Regions from separate parts of the Homo sapiens genome. Here region 2 is linked to region 1. The links are contacts of gene promoters, found by promoter capture Hi-C in blood cells and fetal thymus (Javierre and others, 2016). All regions are on one chromosome and are shown on one strand. Each heading gives the region's core, a stretch centred on a gene start or on the middle of the fragment in contact. The rest is flanking DNA. Distances are from core to core; before and after follow the strand shown. Region 1 holds the start of FDFT1 (farnesyl-diphosphate farnesyltransferase 1). Region 2 has its middle 12 kb from the start of DEFB136.

Region 1 (3,321 bases), core at 430-2,929:
GGCAAACAGGTGGGTCTAGATGAGGTGTGAGCAGACTCGAGGGGCACAGGAGTTAGTCAAGCCAGTATCTGGGGGATAGTGCAGGAATAGTGAACAGCTAGACAAAAAGTCCTAGGGCCAGAGAAAGCAAAAGCATAAGAGATGGAGGCCAGAGAGGTAATCTGGGTGGAAGGCTGCAGCCTCTCAGGATCCCTATAGGTGCTTTGGCTTTTGTTGGAGAGACACTGAACAGCTTTGGGCAGTGAACGTACCTGACAGGTTTCCTGTTTGTTTTTGAGATGAAGTCTCGCTCTTGTCCCCCAGGCTGGAGTGCAATAGCGCGATCTCAGCTCACTGCAACCTCTGCCTCCTGTGTTCAAGCGATTCTCCTGCCTCAGCCTCCCAGGTAGCTGGGATTATAGGCGCCTGCCACCATGCCTGGCTAATTTTTGTATTTTTAGTAGAGACGCAGTTTCAGCATGTTGGCCAGGCTGGTCTTGAACTCCAGACCTCAGGTGATCCGCCCGCCTTGGCCTCCCAAAGTGCTGGGATTACAGGCATGAGCCACCGCGCTCGGCTAGACCTGACAGGTTTTAAAAGGATTACTGGTTGCTGTGTTAAAACAGACTGCAGGATGGCTTAGGTAGCCAGTAGGTTTTTTTTTTTTTTTGGAGACGTAGTCTTGCTCTGTTGGCCTGGCTGGAGTGCAGCGGTGTCATCTTGGCTCACTGCAAACTCCGCTTCCCGGGTTCAAGTGATTCTCCTGCCTCAGCCTCCGGAGTAGTTGGGACTACAGGCGCCCACCACCACACTCGGCTTTTTTGTATTTTTAGTAGAGACGGGTTTCACCATGTTGGCCAGGATGGTCTCGATCTCTTGACCTCGTGATCCACCCGCCTTGGCCTCCCAAAGTGTTGCGATTACAGGCGTGAGCCACCACGCCTGGACGGGTAGCCAGTAGTTTCTAGGGCTGGAGAGATCTAGGATGAGAGAAGTTTCCACATTCCTGTTACAGGCTCTCTAAGGCTTCAGCTCCTTTTTCTAGGACTAAGCTGGATCTCAAGTAAACACTAGAGAGGGGGCAGCTGAAGCTCCAGGAGTGTGTGGGGCTCCCTGGGGCTGGATGGCGGTGGCGGGCAGGCGAGCTGGGCTGTGCTCGGGTGTGTTACAGTAAAGACGCCCAGCTTGGCGCTGGCCCGGCCTTTTCACGGTTTTAGGCTCTACAGAGAGCGGCTGCAGAGCTCACCCGGCTGGCAGGAGCCACCGAGGCCGGACACGTGGGCGACTTATTGACCAAGTGGGGAGGAAGCAGCCCCGCACTGCTCTCCCGACTGCGGACCACCGTTGGGCTCCTGCGCATCCTAAGCCCCACCGCCTCACCTCCAGTCCCCACAGCGTTCGCGCTCCCAGCCGGGGTAAGCGGAAGAAAACAAAGGCCCGGCTCCATCAGGGCACCAATCCCGCTCGTCGGCCTCTTTCTCGGCCTCCAATGAGCTTCTAGAGTGTTATCACGCCAGTCTCCTTCCGCGACTGATTGGCCGGGGTCTTCCTAGTGTGAGCGGCCCTGGCCAATCAGCGCCCGTCAGCCCACCCCACGAGGCCGCAGCTAGCCCCGCTGGCGGCCGAGGCCGGTTGAAGTGGGCGGAGCGGCGGGCGGGGCGTCGCCGTACTAGGCCTGCCCCCTGTCCGGCCAGCCCCTCGAAGCACCTACTCCACAGGTCCAGCCGGCCGGTGAGCGCCTGGGGACCGCAGAGGTGAGAGTCGCGCCCGGGAGTCCGCCGCCTGCGCCAGGATGGAGTTCGTGAAATGCCTTGGCCACCCCGAAGAGTTCTACAACCTGGTGCGCTTCCGGATCGGGGGCAAGCGGAAGGTGATGCCCAAGATGGACCAGGTGGGCCGAGCCTCCCTGCTTGCCCGGGGCGGGGAAGGAGCTCGCTGGGCCGGCCTCAGGGCCTGAGCGGCCGGGCCCGGATCTGGGGCAAGGGGCGCGGCGAGCAGGGCCGACGCCTGGGTGTTCCCGTCCCCCTTTCCTCGAGCCTTCCCCCTGTAGGGCCCGGGTGGACGCGGCCGTCCTGGCTGACCTGTCCCTGCCCCCGCAAGCCGCCCTGGGCATGAGCGACTTTTGCGTGGTTCCCGGTGGTTGCGCTCCCCGTTTCGTCCCCTCCGTGAGCATCGGCGCTTACCGGTATTTTAACCCGAGGGTTACACATCTGAGGCAATGTGGGTGGGTTACGCGGGAGAGGACGAGTGAGTTTTTTGGTAAGCGGAATGAACTATGCAGATAACATCACATGAAGGCCGTTTCTGGAATGAAGTCTGACTCCTCCAGTTTCACCACCTCTTCCGGAGCTCTCCCCGCCTTGCTGCCTTCCATCGCTTCATCCTCGGTGCTTCCTGAGTTTTAAAATCGCCTATCTACGCTTCCAAGTTCCAATGAGTTATCTAACGTCTATGGATTAGCTAGGTGGTTGGTGGAAGGTCAGAACTTGGTTTTACTTAGATTTTTATCTGCCTCATGCCTGTACTATTTGTTTAATGAATGCATAGGAGGTGTTTTTATTCCAACAAGAAAATTATTCGTACGCGATTATTGAATGAATAGACAAATTCAGCCAAGTTCTTCTGGTCTGGACCAGCCTGGCTGATTTCTGTAACTTTTTTGGGCCAACAGGACAGTAGCAAATGTGACTCAGGCCGAGGCTTGATAGGTGCCTGAACATCGGAGTCTTTCTTTCAGTGTCCATGTGCTTCAGTAAACACACTAGAAAATAAATTTCTGGTTTTTGTCCCCAGTAGACTACACCCTCATTTGGTGTTATTTTTCACGTGCTATCTTTAATACAGGTACATCCTTCAGTCTATTTGTAGAACATTCAGTTTTCTTCATCTTTTCTTTGCCGGTGCTACATTATTTGAATTATTTTGCTACAGAATAACTTCTATTATTTGATATGGCAGATGTCACTTTTTATATTTAGATATAGCATTCATTTATTTAACAAATATTTGACGACCAGTTGTATATCAGATAGTGTTCTAGGTGCTGGAGGTACAACAGTGAACAAGCTAGGTGAAGACCTTGATTTTATAAAACTTACTTTTTAGTGGAAGAGAGACAATTTAAGAAAGCGAATGTACAGTTTTTCACGTGGAGAAAAGCACTGCAGAGGAAGATACTAGCAGGGCAAGGGATCTGAGTGCAGTCAGACCTCATTTGGGTCCAGACTTCATTCCTCTATGTCTCTTTCCTTTCTACAGAAAGACTGTTAGAGAAAATGGTAGCATTGGTTTCCTGTTGGGAGGGAAAGTGGGTGGTCATGGTAAGTGGGTAGAGAAAGACTT
Region 2 (3,321 bases), core at 578-3,077, 160 kb after region 1:
GCGAGAATTATATGTTTGTAAGAAGAATACCTGAATGAATGAATAAATGAATGAATTTTGGCATTTTGGGATGCTCTAGAGGGAATAACACTACTCAGAATTGCATGGAATGGTCAGCAGTAGTGTTCATCAGAAAGCTTTTTGAAAAATTTTTAAATTATTTTTAAATTAAAAAAATTTTTTTTGAGACAGGGTCTTGCTATGTTGCCTAGGCTGGTCTTGAACTCCTAGGTTCAAGTGGTCCTCCCACCCTGGCCTCCCAAATGCTGGGATTACAGGTGTGATCCATCTTGCACAGCCCCATTGGGAAGTATTTTTTTATCCTTTCATAGATAAAGAAACAAAAGTATCAATTAGTAAGCATCTAGTTTGTTTCAGGCCCTGTGCTTTGCACATGTGTCATTTAAGCTTCATAACAATCCTTGGGGATAAGCATTGTTTCCTCAAATAGGAGGAGGAGCTGAGATTTAGAGCTCATAAGTCATCCAAAGTCACACCGGAGGGCTGAGGACGGAAGGTGTGCAGGTGATTTAGGCACTCCATTTTTGCCGTTCCTCCTTTGCCCTCTGGTCTCTGTGCTCCCTTTGGTATTCCTGGAGAGAAGGCCAGAGCCTTGTTCACACAGCTCCAGAGGGAATGGGGCACTCCCTGGGGCAGTGTGGGGACTTCATCTCTACCTTCCCACGGGCCGAGCACAGTGCCTGGCACACAGCGAGTGCAGGGTAAACCCTCTAGGAGTGAATGGAAAAGCTGTGATGATATGAAAGAATATTATTACATGTTCCCCCTTCCTATACTTACTCATCTTTCACAAACGTGTAGATTAGAAGCTGCTTGAGGGCAGAGTCTTGGTGCAAGCTTCTCTGTGTGGCGCTCTGTGGTAGGCCACAGCAGCTGAAATATCCCAGTGGAGTAGGAGTTGGCAAATTGCACCCTGTGGGCTAAATCTGACAACTGTCTGTTTGTATAAATAAAGTTTTATTGAAACACGGCTTCACACATATATTGTCTACAGCTACTTTGACTCCATCACAGAGTTGAGTAGTTGTGATGTGGACTGCATGCCCTGCAAAGCCTACAATATTTACTCTCTGGCCTTCACAGAAAAAGTTTGTTGATCCTTACAATTGAGATTCCCTTTGTGGATTCAGCTTGTCTCAGCCTCTTCGAGATGAACGTTGCTGAGAGTGGGGTGGCAGGTGCTCCGGTGAAGGAGGAAGTAACCAGCAGTAGACAAGGGCAGAAGCCTATAAAGCTTGACCTCCCCCACCTCATAGTTTACTCATTGTTGCCCCAAACTTACACAACTCAAGACAGGGATCCCAGGATGAAGTCGCGGGGTACAGGCGTTCCCTAAGCCTAGCTGGTTGCACCTCTCTACCAAAATAATAGTAATCCAAACGCAGCATTTCATGAGGCTGAGGCAGAAGGATCACTTGAGGCCAGGAGTTTGAGACCTTCTTGGGCAACATAGTGAGACCCTCCCCCCATCTCTATAAAAAATTAAAATTTAACCAGGCATGGTCGTGCACACCTGTAGTCCTAGCTACTCAGGAGGCTGAGATGGGAGGATTGCTTGAGCCCAGAGGATTGAGGCTGCAGTGAGCCATGATGGTGCCACTGCACTCCAGCCTGGGTGACAGAACAAGACTCTGTCTCTTAAAGAAAAAAATCCTGGGAGAGGTGCTGTCCATCTCTCCCATCCCTACAATGAGTTTCTTGCCACGCCAGAGGGTGGCAGAATCTGAAACCTAGACGATCTCAACAGGTTGGCATGAGAGGCCAAGTCTAATAAAATGAAGTCAAACTGGGATAAATGGAAGGTTGCACCCTCAGGTAAAACCAAAATCAGTACCATAAGCATCCATTTTGGGAAGGTAAAGGTTAATTACCATCTTTGAGACAAAGCATGACTGGCTTTTGTAGATGGAAAATTCATATGAGTAGTCAGTGGTGTGAACTCCCACAAAATGAGTTTGGTCTCAAGCTGTATTCATGGAATTTTGGAATCTGAGATTAGAGACAAGAGCATCCCATTCTTTCTCTGTCTTCGGGCAGGACCAGATGTGAAATATCCTGCTTGAAACAAATGGGAGTGCAGCAGGAGTGGGGGCCGCTCAGACACAGCTCTGAGTAGTGTCCTGGGAATCAACGCAGCTGGGTGCTTTAGCCTGGAGATCGGAGCAGAGTGAGGGCTGAGAAGAGGAGCGAGCTCACTTGTCTTGGGAGGTCCCCAGGGTTGGATGTGGAATATGTGTCCTGAGGTTCTCGGCAGAAATTGCAATGTCCATCTCTCTTCCCTGGAAGTTCGATCTTTGAGCCCATGAGTACTTTCTGGACACATTCCGGGCAGCAAGAGTTTGGGGAGATGGGGTTGGGATTAGCTTTTAATAGATGATAAAGCTTAGGCCAAAATAATCAACCTGGTTCTTCTTTTTTCACTGCATTCGAATGGAAAGAGCGCTAGACTGCGAGTCAGGACAGCTGCCTGGACTCCCAGCTCCCCTACTCACTAGCTATATGGCTTTGTATAGATCATTTTACTGTCTGAGCTGCGGTTTCCTTCTCTAAAAGAAAATGGAATAATGAACTCTGTCCACGTTATGTGAAAGCAGCTCATGAATCCTGCCGTGCTCTGTGGGTGAGGGCCTCGCTCAAGAGTGCTGTTGGGAGAGGCCTTCAGGTGCAGTTCCTCGGCTCCCTGGACACTCAGCTGGGGGCTCATGGGTCCTGGGGAGGGCTCCGGATGCAGGGGGCAGTGATGGCCAAGGCCCTTGGGGGCTCTCTGTTGGGGCCACTCACAGCAGGGATGCAGATGTTCAATATCAGCACCCCCTCTCCCAGCATCTGGAGAAACAGCCTTGCCGCTGACTCCAGGCAGGCTCTAGATGATCAGCTGATGATGAAATTTACATCTGAGCCTGTTCCCTTGAGATCTCACAGATGATTCCATTTTGGAACCTTTCCCATCCCCCTCATTTCCTTCCCAAACCTCTTCTCTCAGTGGGAAAGGGTATCGTCTCCCTCCAGGGTACCCGGGAAATTCCCATAGAAATGTCCTCAGGGCTGTTCCACCCGGGAACACTGGGCAGCCCCTCCTCCTGGTTCCAGCAGCTCTTAGAGAATTGAGATTGACTCTGCAGGTGGGTGATGCAGGGAGGCCTAAGTATGCGTGTGAAGGTGACTCCAAACTTCCTGGGTCCCAGAAGCTCTCGGGCAGCTCAGGGAGGAGGACCTGGACAGCAGAAAGCACATAGATACAGAGAGAAGAGGAAGCATTCCTCCAGCGACTCCTCCCACTTATTTTCCAAGCAGATCTTT

The links. Contacts are between HindIII fragments. The CHiCAGO score rates a contact against its expected background, and 5 or more counts as called.
Region 2: a contact is called between a fragment that was not itself captured here and the fragment with the promoter of FDFT1 in region 1, in 2 of 17 cell types (monocytes and M2 macrophages). The highest score is 6.7, in monocytes.

The regions. Positions count from the first base shown.
Region 1 is chr8:11,801,062-11,804,382 of GRCh38, forward strand. It overlaps FDFT1 (farnesyl-diphosphate farnesyltransferase 1), which reads left to right and starts at 1,680. Exons shown (of 8, transcript NM_004462.5): 1 at 1,680-1,870. The coding sequence starts at 1,772. LOC105379243 (a long non-coding RNA gene) reads right to left here and starts at 294. Exons shown (of 3, transcript XR_948962.4): 1 at 252-294. RefSeq lists enhancers at 1-469, 470-1,211, 1,249-1,408 and silencers at 1,479-1,728, 1,939-2,058. The HindIII fragment of the contact is 12,361 bases long and covers 1-3,321 here.
Region 2 is chr8:11,960,988-11,964,308 of GRCh38, forward strand. No RefSeq gene overlaps it. Among named protein-coding and RNA genes, the nearest start is that of DEFB136, 12 kb to the right of the region's middle. The HindIII fragment of the contact is 1,148 bases long and covers 1,254-2,401 here.